2 separate regions of the Homo sapiens genome follow, and region 2 is linked to region 1. The links are contacts of gene promoters, found by promoter capture Hi-C in blood cells and fetal thymus (Javierre and others, 2016). All regions are on one chromosome and are shown on one strand. The core of a region is centred on a gene start or on the middle of the fragment in contact, and the rest is flanking DNA. Distances in the headings are between cores, read along the strand shown.

Region 1 (5,690 bases), core at 3,042-5,541:
ACAACAATAAACATCAACTTTGAATTTTTTATCCTGCAAGAATAAGCTTCAAAATGGAGAAATAAAGTCTTTCCCAGAAGCAAATTCTGAGGGAATTTAAGAAATGCTCGAAGGAGTTCCAAACAGAAAAGAAAAGTCCATAAACTAAAAAAAGAAACAAGCTACAAAGTAACTAGCTGACAATTATCATTATGACAGGAAGAAAACCTCACATGTCAATATGAACCTTAAATGTAAATGGATTAAATGCTCCACTTAAAAGATACAGATTGGTGAAACAGATTAAAAATATGAAACAGATAAAAAAACATGATCCAAGCATATGCTGCTTGCAAGAAACTCTACTTATTCATAAAGATACTAACACACTGAAGGTATATACAGATATATTTATATCTGTCTCTGAGGAGGGGTCTGGGGAGGCCTGAGGGGTGACTGGTGCTCCTGACACTGAAACCTGATGTCTCTGCTAAAAATCTCTGGGTGGGTCTGTAAGGGCCCATCACGTTTCTTCATATGAGGAGGCCCAAGAATTCTGCTGAGGGAGAGGAGGGCGAACTCCCCAGAGAGAGAGAGGAAGGGAGGAGGAGGAGGCACAGAGCCCCAGCCCCACCCCTGGATTCTGATTTCATCAGGCTCTGCTCCCTTGTTCTGAGGACTTTTGGGGTCAAGTGGAGCCTTATCCACCCAGACACCCTGGCTCTTGTGAGGATACACGGACACGAATCCTCCCTTCTACCCACACATGCTCCAGCCGGCCCTCAAGTGTGAATACTGTGTGGGATCCCTCTAAGTGCACACAGAACTTGACCTGACATAAGACCACAATCTAATTTTGATGATTCGCTGGGGGTAGAGTAGAGAAGAGCTTGCGTGAGAGATATCTAGAATTTAAAGCGTCAAGCAAACGTGATCAATGCTTAATGATCACGTTGAGTTAAACCTATCCTGATTTTTCCGTCTACACTTTCCTCATTGTCCCCCAGAGGGCAGCAGAGTCCCTCCCGGCCTGGCACCTCCCCAGCGTCCGCTGACGTCCTTCAGCTGGACTAGAGTCCCCCAGGGTATACCCTCACCAGGATCACCTCGACCCACCTCCTCCTCGCCCTCCAAGCTCCCCAGACGCACTCTGTCAGCTCCTCCTTGCAGTCCAGTGGCCGTCCACCAAGTCACAACTTCTGCGGGCAGCTCCTGCCCCCACATCGCCTCCTCCCTGGGGCTCAGCCGAAAGGCATCTCCTAGGGCAGCTCCCTGTGATCCTCAGAGCACATTCACAGCCCTTCTCTCATTAGCATTAGCTCTTCAGTCCCATGATGTTCACTGAGCACCTGTCTCCCTGTTACAGGGAAACTCCATGAGCACAGGGGCCACGTCTGTCCTGCTTTTTGTGGAATCCCAGGGCCCAGTCCAGTGTCTGACATACAACAGATGCTCAACAAATACTGGTTAAATGCGTGGGCGGTCACACAACAGAAGCACATCACCTCTGTGTGACCCCCGGAGTCAGGGTCTGTTCTTTGTGGACACAGAGGCACTGGTGCCAGCATGGGAGGAGGCCAACAAGTGCCCAAGGCTGCCCCAGGGACAGGGCCTGAACCCTCAGAGCTTCAAGAGGGAGGACAGGGCCTTCTAAGAGAGGGGGGTCAGAATCTGACTCATCCCAGAACAGTGACACCCCTTCCCCGTCTCTGACTTGTGAGTCATGTCACGACTCCCAGGGGGCCTGGGCCAGCAGCCTATGTCCTTCCTCTTCTCACAAAGACACCTGACCTGCTGCAGACTCTGGATCCTCCATCCCAGATGGAGTGACCACCAGGGGACCTGATCACAAGGAAGTTGGGTGATGACACCCCACCCCCGAGGGTCCCTGGAGATGGGGGCTCCTGGCTGTGGTCTCTGGAGACCTCTAACCAGCCCAAGGAGACCTGGGGACCCAGGGGAACTTCCCCTGCAGGAGGACAGGATAACCCAGGATCTGCCTTTGTTTCCATCTCAGAGAGGCTAAGGGTCATAGGGCCTCCCCCTCCCATAACAGAGGAACCAGGAAACCCCTGCCTGAGTATCCAGGTGGGAAATGCCCCAGCTCCTGGGTCCTGCCAGGAGGCCTGGAGCAGACGACAGACAGGGACACAGATGACCTGGAGGCAGCACCCCCAGTGCTGTGATGGAGGAACACAGGGCTCTCTGGGGACCACCTCCTAGGCTGGTGTCCTCTCTCTGAAGCCCCCAGAGACACCTCTCTGGGTCCTACCTTTGAAACCTTGGGGACAGGTGGCTCCTTCTGAGGCAGCCTATCCCCCTGGTGGACAGTTCTCCAAATCTTGATTTGCTGTTCTCTGGACAACTCCTGTCCTCTCCTTGAGCTCATCCTGCACTGCATGGAGTTGGGCAGCCTGGGACTCTCCATGAGCAGGACCTGGGGTGACCTGATCCTGTAGCTTGGAGGTCACACCATGTGGACCCTCGTCAACATCCCTGGAACAGCCCCTGACTTTGACCACAGATCTCTTGCCTTCCAGGGGTGCACATCGCACACAGAGAACACTCAGGAAATTGCAGTTGATTCTCGAATAAGGCAGGGGTTAAGGGTGCTGAGGACCCCGTAGAAAATCTTTGTATAACTTTTGGCTTCCCAACAATTGAACCACTAAAACCCTACTCTTGACCAGAAGCCTTATTGTTAACATAAACGGTAAATCAATGTATTTTGCATGTTTATTTATATTATATACTGTACTCTTACAATAACATAAGCTGGGGAAAATAAAATGTTACTATGAAAATCATAAGGAAGATAAAACATATTTACTATTCATTAAGTGACAGTGGATCATCATAAAGGCTTTTATCCTTTTTTTGTCTCCAGGTTAAGTAGGCTGAGGAGGAGGAAAGGAGAGGGTGGTCTTGCTGTCTCAGAGATGGCAGAGGTAGAAGAGGTGGAGGGGAGGCAAGAGGAGGGGACACACTCAGTGCAACTTTTAATTTAAAACATCTGCATGTGGCTGGGCATGGCAGCTCATGCTTGTAATCTCAGCACTTTGGGAGGCTGAGGTGGGTGGATCATTTGAAGTCAGGAGTCTGAGACCAGCCTGGCCAACATGGTGAAACCCCGCCTCTACTAAAAATACAAAAATTAACCAGGCGTGGTGGCGGGTGCCTATAGTCCCAGCTACTTGGGAGGCTGAGGCAGGAGAATCACTTGAACCCGGGAGGTGGAGGTTGTAGTGAGCTGAGATCGTGCCACTGCACTCTAGCATGGGCAACAGAGTGAGACTCTGTCTCAGGAAAAAAAAAAAAGCAAAAAACAAACAAACAAAAAACAAAAAACAAAAATCAAACAAACAAACAAACAAACAAAAAAACATCGACATGTAAGTGGACCTGTGTGTTCAAATCTGTGTGTTCGAAGGTCAGCTGTAATTCCCCTGGACATGAACTTGGCCTTGCTAAGGTGGTGAAGGTGGAGCCTGGTTTCCATTCCTTGCTCCAACAGACCCTTCTTGTCTTTCACGCGTTCCTGCTGTGTCCCACCTCTTCCTTCCTGGGGCCTTTGAAGACCCCGCTCTGCCAGGGGTTTCTGTGCAGCTCCCCATTCCCTCCTGGCACCACCCATGGGGAAGGCGGGGTGACCACAGGACTGTCAGCCAGACAGAGGCTTCCAGGTCAGGTAGAACATGGAAAGGACCTGAGCCACAGCACATCCAAAAGACAGGGAGAGGGAGGGTTTCCTTGAAGCCTTCCCCAAGGACAGCAGAGCTCAGAGCCACACACCTCCCTCCACCACAGCTCTCTTCCCAGGACACACCAGACACCTCCCTCCACACCCAGGAGCTGTAGCTCCTCCTGAGACCCCTGGGCCTTGGTTTCTGTGCCTGGGTCACTGGAGACAGAGGGCTGGTCCCTCCCCAGTCATCCCCCAGTGAGCCCCTTTCTATCCCCCAGAGCCACCTCTGTCACCTTCCTGCTGGGCATCATCCCAGCAGAAACCCAAGGCCCAGCTGGGTTTCTCTGTCACAAGGGAAATAATCCCCCTGGTGTGACAGACCCAAGGCCAGAACACAGCATAGGTCAGCACTGGGAAAGGTTGGTTGTCCTCCCAGGGGACAGGGGTCCATCAGCCTTGCTACTCAAAGCTTTGTATCGGGAACTGAATATAGACAAAAGGGAAAGAGGAAGAGGGACAAAAGAGGCAGGAATGAGAGGGGAGGGGACAGAGGACTCCTGAGCAGAGACCCCACCCCTGGACCATGTGATCTTGGAAAGTGCTCCTGCCCTGGGAGGAGGCTCAGCACAGAGGTAGGAAGGACAGCAGAGCTGACAGTCACAGCAGCCCTGACAAGAGAGTTCCTGGAGCCCAAGCTCTTCTCCACAGAGGACAAGCAGGCAGCAGAGACCATGGGGTCCCCTTCAGCCTGTCCATACAGAGTGTGCATTCCCTGGCAGGGGCTCCTGCTCACAGGTGAGGGGAGGACTTCCTGGGAGTGGGTGGGAGGAGGGCCAGAGAGACTGGCTGGGGTCTCCTTGGGAGGACGGGGCTCTGAGAGGGGACAAAGGGCTTCTGTTGAAGTCCTTTGGGAGAGGACACCAGACAGGGACAGGAAACCAGAACAGGAAAATCACATTGGACTGGAATTGGAAAGGGTCAAGAAAATCTCACATGTTCTCTTTTCCTGGTTAATCATCACTAGCTGCTACATTTTGAAATATGATAATAATAACTATATCATGTGACGCTTCAAATAAAAACATAACCAGGGCATAAAACATTGTCCCTAGCCACCAACCTCAGGCATTGGAAAATAAACCCCAGGATGTGGAGGGAGGGCCCTGGGAACTCTCATGAACTCATCTACTGGAGCCTGCAGCCTGTTCCAGGCACTGGGGTGCAATCCAGTTCACACAAGTCCCTGCCCTCACAGAGCTCACGCTCTCATGCGGCAGAAGACAGACAGGCAAAGAGATCTAGAATGTGAAGCCAGGTGTTGACAAGAGCTCTAAAGGGAACAGAGCAGGGAAATGTCAGAAACGGAACACCCAGGGCTTCTAGAGAAGGTGTCAGGGAAGGGGTCTCCCAAGGATGCCCTGATGTAAGCAGGTCCAGCAGTATGGAGGGAGCCCTGCAGATCCCTGGGGAAGAGGATTCCGAACAGGGAAATGTAAGGTCAGAGGTGCTGATAGGGGACATGCTGCTGACATTGATCCAGTAGGACACACACACACACACACACACTTACTTCAAGATGGGGGTGGGTGAAGAGACCTGCTCAGGATCCAGGGCCCCATCTTTCCACCCCAATACATAGGTCCCAATATTGACTGATGTTCTCTCCCCCTCCTAGCCTCGCTTTTAACCTTCTGGAACCTGCCAAACAGTGCCCAGACCAATATTGATGTCGTGCCGTTCAATGTCGCAGAAGGGAAGGAGGTCCTTCTAGTAGTCCATAATGAGTCCCAGAATCTTTATGGCTACAACTGGTACAAAGGGGAAAGGGTGCATGCCAACTATCGAATTATAGGATATGTAAAAAATATAAGTCAAGAAAATGCCCCAGGGCCCGCACACAACGGTCGAGAGACAATATACCCCAATGGAACCCTGCTGATCCAGAACGTCACCCACAATGACGCAGGAATCTATACCCTACACGTTATAAAAGAAAATCTTGTGAATGAAGAAGTAACCAGACAAT
Region 2 (5,462 bases), core at 530-3,029, 230 kb after region 1:
ACCCCCTTGTGATATTGTTTCTGATATACACGGGGAGAAAAGATAATATTTCTTCCAAAATTGCAGGGGGTGTACAACCCCCTGTGATATTGTTTTTAATATCCAGTGGGGGAGAGAATATTACTCCCAATATTGCAGGGCGTGTACACAACCCCTGTGATATTGTTCCTAATATCCAGAGTAGGGGAGGATGACATTACTTTCAATATCGCAAGGGGTGTACATTCCCCTGTGATATTGCTCCTAATATCCATGAGGGGAGAGGATGATATTATTCCTAATATGGCAGGGGCTGTACACCTTCCCTGTGATATTGTTTCTAACATCCAGTGGGGGAGAAAATGATATTACTCCCTATATCACAGAAGGTGTACACTTTCCCTGTGATATTGTTCCTAATATCCAGAAGGGGAGAGGATAATATTACTCCCAATATCGCAGGAAGCTTACAACTCCCCTGTGATATTGTTTCTAATATCCAGGGAGGTAGGGATGATATTACTCCCAATATCGCAGGGGATGTACACTCCCCCGTGACATTGTTTCTAATAACCAGGGGGTGAGAGGATGATATTACGCTTAATACCGAAGGGGGTGTACACACCCTTGTGATATTGTGCCTAATAGCCAGGGGGAAGAAAATTATATTAATTTTAATATTTATGGGGAAAAAGGATGATATTACTCCCAATATCACAGGGGCTGTACACCGACCTTTTGATATTGTTTTTAATATCCAGAAGAGAAGAGGATAATATTGCTCCCAATATCAGAAAAGGTGTAAACCCCTTCTGTGATATTGGTCCTAATATCCAGGGAGGGAGAGAATAATATTACTACCAATATCACAGAAGGTGCCCACCCCCAAGGTGATATTGCTCCTAATATCCAAAGATAATAGGGTGATGTTACTCCCAATATCACAGGAGGTGTTCACACCCCTTGTGATATTGTTTCTAACGTACAGGGAAGGGAGAGGATGATATTATTCCCAATATCACAGGAGGTGTATACTCCTCTGTGATATTGATTTTAATATTCGGGGGGAAAGGATGATATTACTCCCTATATCGCAGAGGGTGTACACCCTCTGTAATATTGATCCTAATATCCAGGGCGGGATAGGATGATATTACTCCCAATATCGCAGAAAGTCTACACAACCCCCAGTAATATTGTTTTTACTATCCAGGGGGAAGAGGATGACATTACTCCCAATTTCACAGAGTGTGTACACTCACCATTTGATATTGTTTCTAATATCTAGGGGGAGAGAATATATTACTCCCAATATCACAGGAATTGTACACCACCTCTGTGACATTCTTGTGAATATCCGGGGAAAAAGAGAATAATATTACTCCCAATATTGCAGAGCGTGTACACCCCTCCATGATATCGATACTAATATTTTTTTAAAGAGGATGATATTACTCCCATTGTCACAGGATGTGTACACCCCCCTTGTGAAATTGTTCATAATATTCTGGGGGGAGAGCATAATATTACTCCCCATATCGAAAAAGGTGTCCACCCTCCTTATAATATGGTTCCTAATATCCAGGATATTACTTAATCCAGGATACTTGTAATATCCTAAATATACAATTGCTTGAACCTCCACCTCCCAGGTTCAAGCAATTCTTCTGCCTCAGCCTCCCGAGTAGCTGGGACTACAGGTGCACACCACCACACCCAGCTAATTTTTTTTTCTTGTATTTTTAGTAGAGATGGGGTTTTGCCATATTGGCCAGGCTGGTCTCAAACTCCTGACCTTGTGATCTGCCCACCTCAGCCTCCCAAAGTGCTGGGATTATAGGCGTGACCCACCGTGCCAAGCCAGGAAGAGGATGCTCTATAGATTTCTCCAATAAGAGATGGCTTTGCAGGGCCATTCCAAAATATGTCAAAGAAATACATTTGGGGATAAAATACTTTGATTTCCTTTAGGGAATGTTATCTATTATGTGATGCTATACCAGAGTCAGGTTGGAGTCGGTTATCTTATTGCAACAAAGAGTCTGTTCCGTCACTGTTGGGATCTCTATTTTTTCCTCTTATTTCTTGAGACAGGGTCTCACTCTGTCACCCAGTCTGGAGTGCAGTGGTGCGATCTTCATTCACTGAAACCTCTGCCTCCTGTGTTCAGGTGATTCTCGTGCCTCAGCCCCTTAAGTAACTAGGATTACAGGTGTGCGCCACCACACCCAGCTAATTTTTGTATTTTCAGTAGAGATGGTATTTTGCCCTGTTGGCCAGGCTGGTCTTGAACTCCTGGCCTCGTGTCATCTGCCCACCTCGACCTCCCAAAGTGCTGGGACTGCAAATGTGAGCTATTGTGCCCAGCCAGGATCTCTGTTTTAATGTTAGTGCTGGTCACTTTGCATGAACTCCAAAGGGAAGAAATATAATGAGGTGTGTCTGACCCCCTGCCTTCTCATCGTGACCTGAATTAGTTTTTCAGGTTTGCAGGGGATACCCTTGGACAAGAAGGGGCTCTATTCGGTTGGTTGGGGGGATTAGAATTTTACTTTTTGTTTACAATATTTCTCCTGAAAGAGTTAGGGGCTCACAAGGAATTTCCGCGTGAGCAACTTATGAGGAAAGCCATCTGGGAAGATATGTGTCCTTGTGTCACTGGGATATTCTCGTTTACCCCAATGATACGGCAATGACGCAGGGTTGTGAAATTACAGCTATGTGTTTGGGGAAAAAAGAAAGCAGGATTGTGTGACTACGTTTCCAAACTTCACTTGCCCTTAGCCATAGTGAGTTGGGGGCCTGGAGATTCTGTTTTCTTTCACAATGATATAGATACAATTGAATGTATAGAAAGCAAAAAAATAAAAAGGTGAGTAATGAGGAACCTCTGATTCCTGAGTGGCCATGTAGTTACCCATGGCACAGAGCCACAGTTACTGAAGGTAAAGTTTGCTGGGGAATTTAGAAATGAATCCAACTCTTGGAGGAGTCAGTTTACTGGATGCCTAAGAAAATGCAAACAAAATAAGAAAAAAGGGTAATATTCAATCCCATAGTTATTGTTACCTGTCATAGCTAAAGTAAAATTAAAACAGAGTGCTGGCTTCAATCTTGATGCTACACTAAGCTTAGATTTCAGTGAATGTGAGTCTCAGCCACTAGCTCAGAGCCACCTCCCAAAGACCAAATCATGTAGGGACAATAGAAAGTACTTCTGAGAATTGTGGTTACCAAGAACCTAGTAACTGTTGGGGAGGAGCAAAACAAAGTACAGAAACCAGAGGGTACAATCTGAGTGAGACTGCTATCAGCTTCTGGAGGAGCCTTTACTAAAATGAATGATGAGAGTAACTGGATGATGAGAGTAACTAATGGATGATGAGAGTAAGCAATGTCTTTGGTTTTCTTTTTTTTTTTTTTTTTTTTTAGCAGACGTCTCACTCTTGTCGCCCAGGCTGGAGTGTAATGGCATGATCTCGCCTCACTGCAACCTCCACCTCCTGGGTTCAAGCAATTCTCCTGTCTCAGCCTCCCGAGTAGCTGGGACTACAGGCACTCATCACCACACCTGGCTAATTTTTGTATTTTTAGTATTTTCTGGTGAGGGTCCAGGTTTCCGGAAACAACTCAGAGACATATGTTAAGATGTTATCTTTAGTTTTCACAGGGAACCAAATATGTTACGACTCCAATTTCCTTGGCTATTGTTTTAAGTTACCATTACCTTCTCGTTGATCAAGTTGCTCATTTACTTCTCAAGCCTAGCTAGATGCCTGGAATTTCCCTTGAAGGAAGTCAAGATTTTCCTTTATCTCCATACTGGCTGATGGTGATCGAGTAAGCCCCTAAGAGGGGTCCCTGCTCCATCTCGAGATGCTGCTAGATTCTACAGTGCCTAATAAACAGCTCTCGCCTGGCCGACAAAGAGCTGCTTGCTCTCTGGATAGCAATTCCAAAGTGAACAGACAACATCCTGTTTGGAAGACTGCCACTCTGTTAGAAGAAGCATCAGGAAAACCTTTCTTTTGAGCTATTTATAACTAACAGCAATTGACCAAGTATACTTTTGTGAGTGAAACTGACCTTTCTCCCTGTAAGAATTCTCCAAAATTTGGAAACTATTTGTGAGTATTTTTACTTATGGCAATATAATTATTGGCACAAGCTCAATCAGATTCGGTTTTCTTTCGTAACAGGAACCATTGGAGATACTCATTACTCTTTGAAGGCTTACAGTGGAATGAATTCAAATACGACTTATTTGAGGAATTGAAGTTGACTTTATGGAGCTGATAAGAATCTTCTTGGAGAAAAAAAGACTGGGTATATTTTCAATATGCTTTCCTTTTAAGGTCCCTCACCTGTGGAAAGTAAAGAATGTCACTTTCTGACAGGCTCAGGAACCTCAAGTTATGTAGGGATCTCAAGAAGATGGGGGAATTCACCCAGTTCATACAGGTGAAATTGCTGTTGCAAAGATTATGAATATGAGAGAAGTCCAGCATGGCTGACTTCATCTCGTGTCTGGCCTCAGGCTGGCTGCCCTTGCTCACTCTTGGGCATAGGCCAAGCTAGCCATGGGAGGAATTTAGTTTATAGTTTAACTTTGAAGCACGGATGATAATAGTCTCTCCCTAAAATGAACCCCTTCCTTGCTCAGGGACTGAAACTACCTTTGTATGACAAATGAAAGCCCACAAGATTAAGATTATGAGAGGGGCCTGAATTCTGCTAAAATGCAGGTGTAGCTGACTGATAACAAGTCATTGTCCCACAGCTTGCCTTTCTATAATCTCTTGCTTCTCAGGAGTCACATGGCCAGAGGTCCTGAGATTTCCAGTCCTGTGACCCCCACCCAGAGATGGACTTAGTGCATGAGGACCATTTTCCACACCCCTATGATTTCATCCTCAAACAATCAGCAGCAACCATTCCCTAGCCCCCTGCCTTCCAAATTATCCATAAAAATCCTAGCCTCTGAGTTATTAGGGAGATTGATTAATAATCCCAGTCCTACCCCTTGGGTTGCTCTGATTTAATTAAACCTTCTCTACTGCAATACCACGGACTCAGTAAATTGGTTTTGTCTGTGCAATGGGCAAGAAGAACATGTTGCATGGTTATACAGGTACTACAAGCACAGTCTGATGGCAAATTATTGGTTTTGCTTCCTGCCCTTGATGTTTCTAAACATCTAGTCCAAAATTACTTGTGAAAGGTCCAGCAAAGCCAATTTTAAAAGAGGCTATATGGCCAATCACTATTCTTTCTACACATTATTGCAAATAATCAGGCCACGGCTGGGCACGGTGGCTCATGCCTGCAATCCCAGCACTTTGGGAGGCTGAGGCAGGATCACCTGAAATCAGGAGTTCAAGACCAGCCTAGGCAACATGATAAAACCCTGTCTCTACTAAAAATACAAAATTAGCCAGGCATGGTGGCATGCACCTGTAATCCCAGCTACTTGGGAGACTGAG

The links. Contacts are between HindIII fragments. The CHiCAGO score rates a contact against its expected background, and 5 or more counts as called.
Region 2: a contact is called between a fragment that was not itself captured here and the fragment with the promoter of CEACAM7 in region 1, in 2 of 17 cell types (M2 macrophages and neutrophils). The highest score is 6.5, in M2 macrophages.

Annotation. Positions count from the first base shown.
Region 1 is chr19:41,686,871-41,692,560 of GRCh38, reverse strand. CEACAM7 (CEA cell adhesion molecule 7) reads left to right here and starts at 4,291. Exons shown (of 5, transcript NM_001291485.2): 1 at 4,291-4,459; 2 at 5,340-5,690. The coding sequence starts at 4,396. The HindIII fragment of the contact is 5,666 bases long and covers 4,136-5,690 here.
Region 2 is chr19:41,455,204-41,460,665 of GRCh38, reverse strand. It overlaps PCAT19 (prostate cancer associated transcript 19), which reads left to right. Exons shown (of 3, transcript NR_136334.1): 3 at 4,179-5,462. Among named protein-coding and RNA genes, the nearest start is that of ERICH4, 15 kb to the right of the region's middle. The HindIII fragment of the contact is 2,664 bases long and covers 448-3,111 here.